Regions from separate parts of the Homo sapiens genome. Here region 1 is linked to region 2. The links are contacts of gene promoters, found by promoter capture Hi-C in human tissues and cell types (Jung and others, 2019). All regions are on one chromosome and are shown on one strand. Each heading gives the region's core, a stretch centred on a gene start or on the middle of the fragment in contact. The rest is flanking DNA. Distances are from core to core; before and after follow the strand shown.

Region 1 (6,790 bases), core at 3,010-5,509, 300 kb after region 2:
GGCCAAGGGATTTAGCCTCTCTGAGCCTCAGTTCTTTTATCTTTAAAGTGGGCAGAGTAACAGAACCAAAGGAAATAACATGTCTTCCTTGCCAAGCATGGTTCAGTGCATAGCAATTGTTCAGCAGTATAACTATTTTATAAACGATTCTATTTGATCTTTATTAAACTTCTCTACCTCCTGATTTTGTGGTTGAAGAGAAACTGGGTTTTAAGAAATTATAGTCCGGGCGCAGTGGCTCATGCCTGTAATCCCAGCACTTTGGGAGGCTGAGGTGGGTGGATGACCTGAGGTCAGGAGTTCAAGACCAGCCTGGCCAACATGGTGAAACCTTGTCTCTACTGAAAATACAAAAATTAGCCAGTCGTGGTGGTGATGGTTGCCTGTAATCTCCGCTACTCTGGAGCCTGAGGTAGGAGAATCATTTGAGCCTGGGAGGCGGACGTTGCAGTGAGCCGAGATTGTGCCACTGCACTCCAGCCTGGGCAATAGTGTGAGACTCTGTCTCAAAAGAAAGAAAAGAAATCAGAAGCATGAATAGCAGGGCCCCTGGTCATTCAGGACAGAGCCAGGCAGGAGTTAGGGTTCCAACTCCCAGGCCAAGGCTCATCCTAATCCTCCAACAAGAGACCCTTTTAGCACTCTGGCCAGTGGGTTTACTTAGGAGACCGGAGAATGCCCCAGGTTGGGGAATCAGGAGCTGGTGGTCTCAGGTCAGACAATCCAGAAAGAGTCAGTCTGGTCTGCACACACCAGAATCACCTGGGATACGTGTTATATCCTTGCCTGAGATCACGACATAAGAATTTCTGGACTGGGCTCAGACACCAGTCTTACTGAAAAGCTCCCTTGTGTTTCTCCTGTGTAGTGGGGGTTGAGTCCCCCTGTGCTAGAGGGACAGGGAGTGCAATGCTGGAAGAACCATTCCTGTTATGTGGAGTGAATTAGAAGACAGCGGTCACCAAAGCCGTATGTTGCCCAGAGTGTGGTTTCTCTGAGGATGGTTTCAGGACATCATGGGAGAGGCTGGTGGCCTACCTTGCCTGGGACGTCGGAGGTGCAGCTGCTCCTGCGAGCATCCCCAAGCTTGCCCCTACCACTCGAGAACTACTCTAAACCCTGTCCAATTGGTTTATATTTGAGGCTTGCACCGCCGCCCTGGTGGGTCAACAGTGTCACCTCTGATGAGTAAGTTTGGCGCTCAGGGGAGGGTCTGGGCTGGAGGTGTAAGCCTGGGAAATCCTGACTGCCTCAGGCTAGAAATAGAAAGTAAATTCCTGACAGTGTGTGGGAGATGGCCCAGGGGCTCAGAGGAGAGTTTCTGGTGGGGTTTCTGGGGATCAACAATATTTATCTGAGTCTGTTAACATCTCAGGGGCTGGATTCCTGTGTTGCCATTTTTGCTACCTTCAGGCCAGGTGTGACTGCACCCTGGGAAGGCTGGAGAGAGCATCTCTTGCTTGGTTGGGGCAGCTGGGAAGGGTGAGCCTCTAACCATTGGCAAGGAAAGGTTCTGGGAGCTGGGGGATGTTGTCTGTGGTGACTCCACACTTCTTGGAGTCTTGCTCAGCCTCAGGGGCTGGTCTGCACCTGGGCAGCTCACCTGGGCTGAAGGGGTGCAGGAAAGAGCGGGGGCGTTGGCGAGGGGAGAAAGAAGGAGAGTCAGCAGCAGAGGCCCCTCTGGGGGTGGTGAGGAGGGGAAAGACTTCAGGGACCTGCCAGGGAGGAAGGCAAAGGTGGGGGAGGAGCGGAAGGGCTGCGGATCAAGGCAGGGACAGGAGGGCCTGCGTGTCTCTACCCCCACATTCCTTCTGGGATTTTTTTTCGTTCCCTTGGTTATAGAAGAATAGCAATTAGCAAATTCAGTAAAAAGGGCCAGAAATGGAGATTGTTTGTGAATTGGGGGCCAAGATGCATGAGTGAAGGAATGTGACCAGAACTATATATAACCCCTCCCTTGGCCCACCCACCTGTCCAGCGGAGTGAGCGATGGTCTGTTTGTTCTGGGCTGGTATGTAGCTCATTTCACTCTAGGAGCCCACCATCTGGACCTGGGCCTCGCTGCCAGTAGCTCTCGGTGACCATATATGGCAAAATGATATATGTGATAAAAAGAAGTCAAATTCCCCAATTGCGTCAGCCCCTGGAGCATGCAGCCTGCCTGGCTCGAGCCCCTTCCAGCCTCTCTCCCAGCCTTCTGCCCCGCAACTTTGCTCCGGAAACCAAAGGGGCTCAGAGATTGACTGGGGGAGCAGGGAGCTGGGGGCGGGGCTGCCATCCCTTCACCCGTTCACCCCAACGTTTGTTTGGGGTGGGGAGGATAATTAGCGAGGGCCTGAGCTGCCAATGTATTTGCCTCTGGCCTTAAACCAGGAAGATTAGAAACTAAGTGATAACTCACATTCTTTCCAGAAAGCAGCCTAGTGTGGCGCCAGTATGTATGTGGGTAGGAGGTGGGGGGCATAGTCCCACTGGGGTTCTGTCCACCCCCAATCCCAAAGATCACATGGCCCCCAACATCCCTTAAATTCCCTTGAACCTTAACCTGCCAGGAAAAATGTTCAGTCCACATAGCTTATCTGGGGGAACAAAATAGAATAAAATTTACACACACACACACACACACACACACACACACAATTTTTCTCTCCCCAAACTTTCTTTCTTCCTTTCTTCTGCTCTGCCTTGTCCCCAGCATCCACACCTGATGCATGGCTGCGTGCACCACCCTGCAAGGGAGCTCCCACTCTGGGCCAGACATTGTGCAGGAGGCCAGAGGAAGGTGACAGTATAGAGCAGATCCTGGCTCTCACGCAGCGTGTCCTGGATGAGGCAATGGACTGCTGCCATACGGGGCATCCAGCCAGACACAAGGGCTCAAGGAAGCTTCTGGGAGGAGGCGACACTTGAGCTGAATCTTAAAGAACAAGCAGTAGTTAGCCTAATGATGGATGGGGATTAGAACCGGAAACCCCGGGCTGAGGAGAGAAAGCGGGGGAGAGAGACCAGATGGGGCTGAGTGCCTCCAGGTGTGGAGAGACGTGAGGCTGGAGGTAAACAGGGGCCAGAGCATGGAGCCTTTTTCTAGGAGATGTTAAAGGGACTGGGTCTCTGTCACCATCTCCCACTCCCAGCTCCCAGCCTTCTATCTCACAGCTCAGTCCACCACCGCGGAGCATGGGTCAGGTCAGGCACGTGTGCACGCGCGCGCGCGCGCACACACACACACGAATATGCCCGGAAATGTATACTCAATGCCACATCACATAAGCAAGGACATTTAGCAAAAGGGAAGAAAAGAAGAAAAATGATGTTCAAATGAGAACCAGGGAGAGACGGCAGGCCTGGGGGAGGGCACTCAGCCAGGAAGGGGAGAGGAGGAGTGGAAGTGGGAAGTGCGTGGGCGGGAGAGCCAGGAGGCTGTTGATGGAAAGGGAGCTGGAGAATGCTCTGGGCTCTCCGCAAGGGGAAGACACAGACAGCAGCGGAGACAGCTGGTCAGCAGAGGTGGTGGGAGTGGGGGGCGAAGCACAGAGTCTAGAGCCCAGCCTCCCCCATCCAAGGCTCAGCTCGGATGTGTGTCCCCTCACGCCTCGCCCGCGGGAACTGTGGCTCCTCCTTTAGCTGACCACAGTGGTGGGCATTGGCTGCAGGAGGTCCCTGAGAAAGCCCTCCAGTGTGGTCCAGGAGGGAGATAGGGCCTGGGGATCTGTCTGATGCTCCGCTTTAGTGTGGATACATTGATCAGATGTGTTCCCTGGCATCCTGGAGGGTTCGAAAGCCTGTTCTGAAGGGTGAGTGTCCTTCATGGCACATGCCTCAGAGACCTGTGTTCCCTGTGCATTCAGAGGGGAGGATCATATTTTAGGACTCAGCCGAGGCTTTGCTTCCACCTCCTTGGCTCCTCAGGGCTAGGCCAGGGACGTGCCTGTGTATTCGTTTGGAAATCCCAATGCAATGCAGTGGGACATGCTTAGGGCAAGTGAAGGGCAGGTGCACTGTCTTTTATGACCCACCCTTGGCAGCCGCACAGTCACTTCCGTTGTATTCTGTTCAGAGCTACTGTGATACCATCAGGGAGGAGACTATGCAAGGGCACCAGTTCCAGGAGGTGAGGGTCTTTAAGGCCATCTTGGAGATTGGCCACTGCAGTCACTAAATTTTGGGGTAATTTGTCATGCAGCCATAGATGACTAATACAGGCAGAGATGTCCTTGATGGGGTGCTTGGCCCAGGGTGGCAGGCAGGTAAGGTGGGGCAGGACTTGACTCTGGGTCTCTTAGATAAGATTCTTTTCACTACAAGAGATTTAAACTTCTATTTTATTTATTTTATTATTTATTTATTTATTTATTTATTTATTTATTTATTGAGAAGAAGTTTTGCTCTTGTTGCCCAGGCTGGAGTGCAGTGGCGCGATCTTGGCTCACTGCAACCTCTGCCTCCTGGGTTCAAGTGATTCTCCTGCTTCAGCCTCCCGAGTAGCTGGGATTACAGGTGTCTGCCCTCACGCCCAGCTAATTTTTTTATTTTTAGTAGAGACAGAGTTTCACCATGTTGGCCAGGCTGGTCTTGGACTCCTGACCTCTGGTGATCGTCCCACCTTGGTCTCCCAAAGTGCTGGGATTACAGGTGTGAGCCACCATGCCTGGCCAAAAAAATTCATTTTAAACTGAAGTATAGAAAGAAATGTATGGGCCCACATAACAGAAAAGACCAGAATCAGTGCTGGTTTTGAGTAGCTGAAACTAAGATGTTAGAGAAAGTATGTGACTCGTAGTCAAATGGGACACATGGAGCACATAGGAGTGTTTGGAGGAGAGGTCAGCAGCAGCTAGAGTGATGGGCAGTGGAGATTCCTTTGTGTATGTGCTCAATTTCTACACCAAAAAAGAAAAGAACAGCAACAGCAAACAAACAGTGGAGATGCTTCTATGTGTGTGTGTGGGGGGGGTCAATTTGTTGGTTTCTTTCGCTTTCTTTGTATAGGATTCAGCACAGGCACGTGCCTATCTCAGCACCTTCACAGCAGAGAGCGAATCTCTGCATCCAGTTACCCCAGAGACACATCTGGACACCTCCCCGCAACAAAGCCCCCAAGACCTTCCAGAAGAGGAGCTGTGTCCAAGAGCCCCCTTCCTGTTATGGGAAGTGCACTATCTTCTGACCCTCATATCTGTTGCCTCTATTTGTTGCTCTCTCATAAACCAATCCAAATGGAGGGCATCTGTATTGCCAAAGGGATTGGTCACTCAGCTTCGTCGGATGCAAGAAAAGATTCTGAGGGTAGGGACGGGCATCGGTCTTGCTGACTGCCCTCTCTGCAGCTGTCAGGACTGGGCTTAGCATGTAGTAGGTGGCCCATAAATATTTGTTGAATGAACACATATCGTCGGGAAAAAGGAGGTTGTTGTAAGGACACGCAGAAGAACCAGAACTGGAACTGGAAGTCAGAGCGGAAGTGGCCCCAGGGACCAGTGAGTCTCAGCCTGTCTCTCAGGGGCTGTGTCTTTTCTCACTACGCACCTGCTAAGATGTGGCACTTGCCATGGCCTCCCCATTCCACCTCATGGCATTCTTCACTGTCAACTTTCAGCCTCCAGCTTCCAGGAGCCTTATACTATGGGTGACTCGCTTCTCTTCTATATTTAACCGCTTCCTCCAAACCAGACCCTTCCCATCAACATTTAAACATTTCAGGTCTCTCCCACTGAAAGAACAAACCAACCAACCCTCTCCAACACAAGACCTTCTCCAGTTACTGCCTTCCTTCCCTTCACGACCAGCTTCTGGAAAGGTTTTTCCACATTCCCCATTTTCGTCTCTTCCCCTCACTCAGTTCTTGCTCATTCCATTCTGGGTTCCTCTCCATCACTCCATTGACGTAAGTCTTGCTGCGGTGCCAGTGACATCCTAGTTGTTCCAGTCCTCACCTTGCATGACCCACAATCACACTAGACACAGATGGTCAAGTTTCTCATTGAACTCACCAGATGTTTCGCCTCTTTCTCTCTGTTGCCCCGTTTCAGCCTCCTTCGCCAGCTCAGGTCCACTGCCAGGCTGGTGGGGTTCCTCAAGCGCTGGCCCAGGGCCCCCTTGCTGTCCACGCTGTACTTTCTCAGTGGGCAGTTGTCTGTGTTCCTTTCTTTCTTTCTGAGACAGGGTCTCACTCTGTCACTCAGGCTGGAGTGCAGTGGTGCAATCTCAGCTCACTGCAGCCTCCGCCTCCCAGGCTCAAGCGATCCTCCCACCTCAGTCTCCTGAGTAGCTGGGACAACAGGTGCATGCCACCACACCGGGCTACTTTTTGTATTTTTTGTAGAGACAGGGTTTCACCATGTGCCTGGGCTGTGTGTTAGTTATTTAGGCTCTTCTGTTACTATATATACATTTGTGACCCTTGTGATAACAGCTCTTCCTTCTCCTCTGCTTCCAAGAACATGTTAGGACTTCCTCACCTCCTTGGGACATGGTTATGAAGATGAGAGTAAATGACACGTCACTTCCGGACAGAATCTTTCAGAGTCAACTTGCAATTCACGATGTCCCTGTCTCTGCCTTAATCATAGTGGAAGCACCTGCTGAGATGGAAGTTTCCTCAGCCTGGTCTCTGAGGGTCTATGATGAGCAGTCTTCCCTAGTATCCGCTTTGGAGAAATAGATCTTAACTGAATTAAGATACTGAGGTTTGGCATTATTTATTTATGTATCTATTTATTTACTTGTAACATCTTTGTTAGATTTTGGTATCTGGTTATTGCTAGCCTCCTCAAACAAACTGAGAAGAGTT
Region 2 (6,863 bases), core at 4,022-6,521:
AGGGGAACGCATCTGCTGAGGATTCACGTGGGGAACACGCGCCGCGCGCATGGAGTCAGCTCCAGCCTCTCTGTCGAGCGGAAGCCCCTGCGGGGGTCGGGGAAGCCCAAGGCCCTCTCTGTGCCCAGGTCCTCCCCTCTGCCTGCCCGCGTGCCCCTCGGAGCTTGGTGGCACCAGGGCTGCCGTGGGCCTCCTGTCCCACCCCAGGCCACGGCTAGCCCGGCGGCCTCCCTGAGGTGCGGCTCACGCCTGCTTCCTCACCAGCAGCACCCAGGGCAGGATGGCGGCCACCACGGCCACCACAGCGATGAGCGTGATGAGCAGCAGGGCCCGCGATCGGCAGCAGAAGGCGCGGGCGGAGCGGGGCGCCAGGGAGGCCTCCGAGAGCTCTGCCAGGCTGCGGCGGGGCAGCACGCTGTCCTGCTCCCCCAGGGGCATCCCGTGGCGGCTGATGACAAAGATCTGTGACTCCCGGGGCAGGCTGGGCAGCAGGTCCAGGGGGAGCTGGGCGCTCTGGCCCGGGCTGCCTGGCGGCCTGGCCTGGCCTGGAGGTGGCCTCCAGGCAGGGGAGGAGGCGGCCAGGGGGTTTGTGTGGCCCAGGCTGTCCAGTGGGGGCACGGAGGGCAGGCCCACGGGCACAGCCAGCGTCTGGGAGCTCTTGTCCAGCATGGAGGGCCAGCGGGAGCTCTTCTTGCTGAGGAATGTGACGTAGCGGCAGATGGGGCAGACCAGGGTCCTCTGGACCTGCCCATCCACGCGGGTGGACAGCAGGTACTTGACCAGGCAGTCATGGCAGAACACATGGCCACAGCTCAGCGTCCGGCTGGCGCCCTCCAGGTCCCGGAACTTCTCATAGCACACGGGGCACTCACTGCCCGAGCTGTCCTTGCTCTCCCCTTCTGACATGGCCACTGGGAGATGGCACGCTCAGCTGTGGACGGGAAGGGTTGTGAATATTGGGGCATTTCCTCTTTCCCTCCCCCGTCCTAACTCCCACCTACACCTCTGCCTCCACTGCCCCTTATCCCCTCTCCCTGTCTTCTGCCTCCTCTCTCTTCCTCCTACTCTTGGCTCTTCTGCTGCTCCTCCTCTATGGCCCACCTGACTCAAACCTAGAACCCAGACCCTTAGGAGGAGAGGAGCAGATGCTTCTGGAAGGGAGAATCGGGAGACAGAGAACCAGAGAACCCAGTCACACTGGACCCCAGGAGGAGGTGTGTGGAGTTCCTGATGTCTCACCTCAATCATCATGTACACACATGGTGAGGTCACTGCCTCACCTCTTCCTGCTTCAGTGACGGAAGTGAAGAAAGGAAGTCCCTGTTACCAGGGGAAGCAGGTGGCTAAGAAGATGCATGCACAGCCCCAGTCCAGTCTCCAATTTGGACCTGCACCCAGAGTGGCCATTTTCCAGAAAAGCCCGTGCTAGTCTCAACCTCTGCCCTCACCTGGGGTTGGCGGGTCCATTGGATTTCCTCCAGCCATTGGATTGCATTCCTCTGTGCTAAGTGTGGCTATAAAGCAATGACTGTTTAAAAAAACAAAGCTTAGAACTTACACATTCAAATGCCTGCTGGCCCTCCACATAGTCACGTCAGGGAGCTTTAGGTTCATTCCCTCACCTGCCACAGCTCAGTCATTCTCCAAATTCTTCTTATGGGGCTGCCTGAGGCAGTGAGAGAAGCATCTGATTAACCGTGATGGAGACAGAATTTCATCCTTTGAGAATATGTCTGATACTTTGGAAATGCCCAGAAGTCACTGGTAGCCAAGTCTGATAGGAAAGTAAATGAGTGATCAAGTGGCATGATATTGTTTGAAATCAAAGCTATGGAGTAGCAAGATATAAAGTAACAAGATATATAAAGTAACAAGATGGTTTGTTTTTTTTTTTTTTTTTGAGAGGGAGTTTTGCTCTGTCGCCCAGTCAGGAGTGCAGTGGCGCAACCTCAGCTCACTGCAACTTCCACCTCCTGGGTTCAAGAGATTCTCCTGTCTCAGCCTCCCAAATAGCTGGCATTACAGGTGCATGCCACCACCCATGGCTAATTTTTGTAATTTTAGTAGAGACAGAGTTTCACCATGTTGGCCAGGCTGGTCTTGAACTCCTGACCTCCGGTGATCCGCCCGCCTCGGCTGGCCTCCCAAAGTGCTGGGATTACAGACGCAAGCCAAGGCGCTGGCCACAAGATGGGTTTTAAACAGAATCTGAGAGCAGATTTGTTTGATTAACTACATGGCTTCCCAAGTCGATGGCTTTGAAGGGAAACATCCACTGGGGTGTGTGGTGAGGTCCAAGTGTCCGCACTGAAAAGTTCCCAGTGTCACAACTGTGTAGCCTAAACTTATCTGGAACAGCTTCTTTAAAAAGAACCATGATTCCTTGTTATTGCTGCTTTCTTCCATCCATGACAGAGACAAAAGACCCCTGGACACACTGATAAAATAGAGTTGCATGGCAGCCCCCAGACCTGAGAGATGACATAGTGGGAACAAAATCAATGTGTAGGAAGGACAACTGTTAAGATCACAAATCTTTCAGAATCCCTCCCTCTCTTGGCTTGGCTCCAAATCTATTTTGCCGAGTTGAAAATGTCCCATAGTCAAAGAGCAAAAATATTTGGAGGTGGGATAAGGAATCTGGGATCCTGGAGGAGGCCCCCAAACCTCTTTGGGAGTTTCTAGCTTTGGTCTTTGAGATGGTCAATGTGGCCCCCAGGATGGGGGATGGGGGTTCAAATCTTTGATCTACCCATTACTGTCTGTATAAGCTTAGCCAAGTTGTTTAACCTCTCTGAGTCTCAGTTTCCTGTCCATAAGATGAAATTGATAATAATGGTATCATCTTCCTCGGAGAGTTGTTGGGGGAATTAAGTGAGCTAATGTGAGTGAAGAGTCTGGCTCAGAGTAAGTGCTCAGTAAATGGCAGTTGTCATTATTAAGACAGACCATGTCCTGTCCCCTCTTCTCCCAAAGGGGACTTGGAGACCCCTGTCACAGCTCTTGAGGCAGCCACAGCATTTGCCTTCCTTTCCTTCCCTCTCATCCCCAAATGTTCCTTAGTATGTGGATGATTAAAAAATCGCACCCACTTGACAGAGGGCAGCTCACCTCAAATTAGAATAACGGAACAAGATGACAATGGATAAGATAAGTGATGGGCAATGGATAATAATTTAAATGGTTATTCCAATCTTTCTTGGTAGTTATTTCATAACACATTTGCAAATGTTTATACCAAACAGCCATTATAATCAGGATGGGCATGATTTTCTTAAGCCAATCAACTATTAATATGTTTCCCTGCATTTCATAACTCCCCAGAGTGTATGATGGCAAGAGTTCCATCCTTCTATCCATCCATCCATCTGTCTAATTATTCGACACATATTTATTGAGCACCTGCTATGTGCTAGGTACTGACTTACATATTGGGGATAAGTAGTGGCCAAGGAAGTTCTTATAAAACTTTAGAGCCTAGTGGACATTTATAAGTTTTCTTGAAAAAGATATTTTTTTGAAAGGAGTATTGATGATCAATGGTTTAAGTTGTTTGGATAACTGAGAAGTAGAGACCAAGGCTGACAAGAAGAGCAAATAAGGAATACTAGAGGGAAAAAGGACTTTAGAGATCACTTAGTTGAAGCTCCTAGTTTCAGAGATGAGCAGATCCATGTCTAGAGAGAGGGAAGTGAGTCACCTGAGGTGACCGGTGAAGGTGACGGAGAGGGAGTTAACCGAGACAGAGAAGATTCCGTAGATGGTAGAACATTGTTAGAATCAGCTGATAGATTGGGTGAGTAGGTATTAGCCAAGTTAGAAAGCACCGTCCTCCTTGAGACGAGCAGGGAAGGAGAAGGAGAGCCTCTACTTTTCATCCGAGTTAGAGGAAAAGTAAAAAGGACCCAGGGAGTGCAGAAGACATCCGAGGCCCCAATGATGGCCTCTCTGGGCAATCCTTCTCCCTTCCAACAATGGCCTCTCTGGGCAATCCTTCCCTCTTACAACGATGGCCTCTCCGGACAATCCTTCCCCCTTCCAATGATGGCCTCTCTGGACAGTCCTTCCCGCTTCCAACGATGGCCTCTCTGGGCAATCCTTCCCCCGTCCCGTGCTTCCGGAGAGCCACGCCGTCAACACCTGGACGATGCTACCTCCTTCCCCACCTTCTTGCCTCCCTTTCTCAGTCTTTCCCTGACCCCTCCCTCTGCCTCTCTCGCTTTCTGAATCCCATTCCATTCCCCATCCTTGAGTTCCTCTTATGGTATGATTCTGTTTGGATGCTGGGGTGAGGGAGAGGGCAACAGAAGAAATGCAAGGAACATACTCTAGTTTGAGCACAAACGAGTTGAAGAAGAATGCAGTAAGTGCCAAAGCATCCCTGTTGGTGCCTTAGGAAACTGAGGGGAGAGGAGGGCTGGAAAGTATTCCTAGGTGAAGTGGGACCAGTATTGAGCTAATAATAAATAATTATTATTATTTACAACAGCGACCATTTATTGAATCCTAATTATATGCTTGGCATTTTGCATCCCTTCCTCTTCTGATCCTGACAACAAGGCTGGGGCGTAGGGATTATCTTCATTTTACAGATAAGGGACCTGAGGCTCAGAGCTTAAGACTTTGTCTTCAGACTTTGGTCAAAGGAATAGAAGAAATAGCACTGTTAGAAAAGTGACTACCCAAAGTTCCTTCCTCTTTAGGTTTAGAGTGACCCTAAACAAGGATGCCCCTCTGGCCACCTGGGAGGCAGGGGGAAGGCAATGGCTGGCCCAAGGGAGCTGACCTTGGGAAGCCCCAGTACTGAGCCTCCCCCACAGCAGTAGCCCATCTCCGGAACAGAGTGTGGGGGCAGGTGTCCCCACCCCAGAGAAAACACCCCCCATCCCCACCTCAGCACAGGAGCCAGTGGGACAGAATGATACTTCCAGGCACCTGGGATTCCCTCCTGGAGCCCCAGTGCAAGGTCCTATAGCTTTAGCTGTGACTAGTTGCTCACCCACAGGTATCTCTTTCTCTCTCTCTCTCAATTTCTCTCTCTCTCATTCTCCTGCATCCTTCCAATGTTGGCAACCTTCCAACATTGCCAAGCTCCTTCCCCACGCCCATCCAGGCCCCTAGACTCACTTTAGCTGGGACCGGAGAGAGCAGCATCCACCTTCCCTCCTGGGGCCTCCAGCAGATCTGAGCCACCCCGAGGTGCTGAGCAGCAGCACGATCTCCTCCTGTTGCTGTTAGTGTGACCGCCACCGCCGAGGCAATTCCTAATGACAGAGCAGGTCGGGAGGACAGCGCGAGGAAGTGAATGTCGCCCAACCCGTTTGAGGCCAGGAGGCTTTGGCGTTGCCCAGGGGGTTGGCAGCTGCTGGAGTCAGGTGATCTTGCTGAGGATGCCAGGAGAGGAACCCCCAGCTTGAGGAGGAGCCCAGGGGTGGGTGCTCAGGAGAGTCAGAGGGTCTCACAGTGGAGGCAGTGACCCAGGACCCCTTTGACTGAGGCTCCCCAGGCATGGGTCTCCCTATCAATAGGAAAGTCACCCACACTGTCCTTCCCACCCTCCTGGACCCATTTCTGTGATCCCCATCTTCCCCCCACACCCCTATCCTCACACCATGCACAGGGTGAAGGGGTCAGTAGTAGATCAGCCTCGGGAAGTCTATGACACTCAGAGTCATATATTTGTGGGATCTGCCTGTGTGCATTTGTCATTCATGGAACACCCAAAGGCGCTTAGAACTCCAAAGACCCAGCACCACTGGCATAAAGAACGAGGCGAGTAAGACCAGTGAAGCAGGAATGCACACAGATATGGAAAGAAGTCCCCGGCATCATGATAAATGGAAGCAACTTTCAGAACAGCCTGTGTAATACAATTCTATTTATGAAGATAATAATACATGATCATATTCATAGAGGAAAAGCTGGAAGAAAACACATCAGACTGTTAATAGCAGTTATCTCTGGAGAGACTTTCTAAGTTTTATATTTCTGTGATGTTTGCATTTTCACCCTGAATGTATGTTTCTTTTGTGATTAGAGAAAAAGTCATCCACTGGGTATGGTGGCTCATGCCTGTAATCTCAGCACTTTGGGAGGTTGAGGCGGGCAGACTGCTTGAGGCCAGGAGTTCGAGACCAGCCTTGCCAACATGGTGAAACCCTGTTGCTACTAAAAATACAAAAATTAGCTGGGCAAGGTGGTGCAAGCCTGTAGTCTCAGCTACTCGGGAGGCTGAGGCACAAGAATTGCTTGAATCCAGAAGGTGGAGGTTGCAGTGAGTGAGCCAAGATTGCACCACTGCACTCCAGCCTGGATGACAGAGTGAGACTGTCTCAAAGAAAAAGAAAAAGTCATCAAGAATAATGGAGGAATGAAGTTCGGGGAACTGGAAATCATTTTGGAGGATTCCCTCCCAGTCCTCTCAGGAGGTCCCCAAGAAACCAGTTTTCTTCTGAAAAAGTAAGTTACTGGGTCCAAGGCACAGCCCAGCATGTGTGTGACCCCATAGGATGACACAGGATGACCCCTCTTCTGTCCGATCAGTCATGGCCCTGGCTTAATGGACACCTTGAAGCTGGTGGGGAGGACAGTCAGGCCAGTGCACTCGGCCACTTCACCATGGACAGAGATCCGTGAGTGCAAGCCGTCGTCACAGTCTCTCTTGTTCTTTCCCTGGGAGTTCCAGGTGGTCCTAGATTAGCAAATGAAAATGCAGTATGCCCAGGTAAATTAGAATTTCAGACAAACAACGAATGCTTTTTGGTATAAATATGTCCAGTACAATACAGTACAATATCTGGGATTTTTTTTTTTCTGAGACAGAGTCTCGATCTGTCACCCAGGCTGGAGTGCAGTGGCCACAA

Evidence for each region. The method cuts DNA at HindIII sites, captures the fragments that hold promoters and counts their contacts. A contact is called where the count stands out against the background at its distance.
Region 1: a contact is called between a fragment that was not itself captured here and the fragment with the promoter of RNF222 in region 2, in 1 of the 25 tissues and cell types used here (lymphoblastoid cells).

What each region holds. Positions count from the first base shown.
Region 1 is chr17:8,695,457-8,702,246 of GRCh38, forward strand. All of the region lies in intron 2 of LOC105371525 (a long non-coding RNA gene), which reads left to right. Among named protein-coding and RNA genes, the nearest start is that of CCDC42, 46 kb to the right of the region's middle. RefSeq lists enhancers at 1,094-1,604, 1,605-2,114, 1,935-2,229. The HindIII fragment of the contact is 7,889 bases long and covers 316-6,790 here.
Region 2 is chr17:8,392,556-8,399,418 of GRCh38, forward strand. It overlaps RNF222 (ring finger protein 222), which reads right to left and starts at 5,272. Exons shown (of 3, transcript NM_001146684.3): 1 at 5,140-5,272; 2 at 1,623-1,774; 3 at 1-931. The coding sequence starts at 906. The coding sequence ends at 244. The HindIII fragment of the contact is 8,302 bases long and covers 2,159-6,863 here.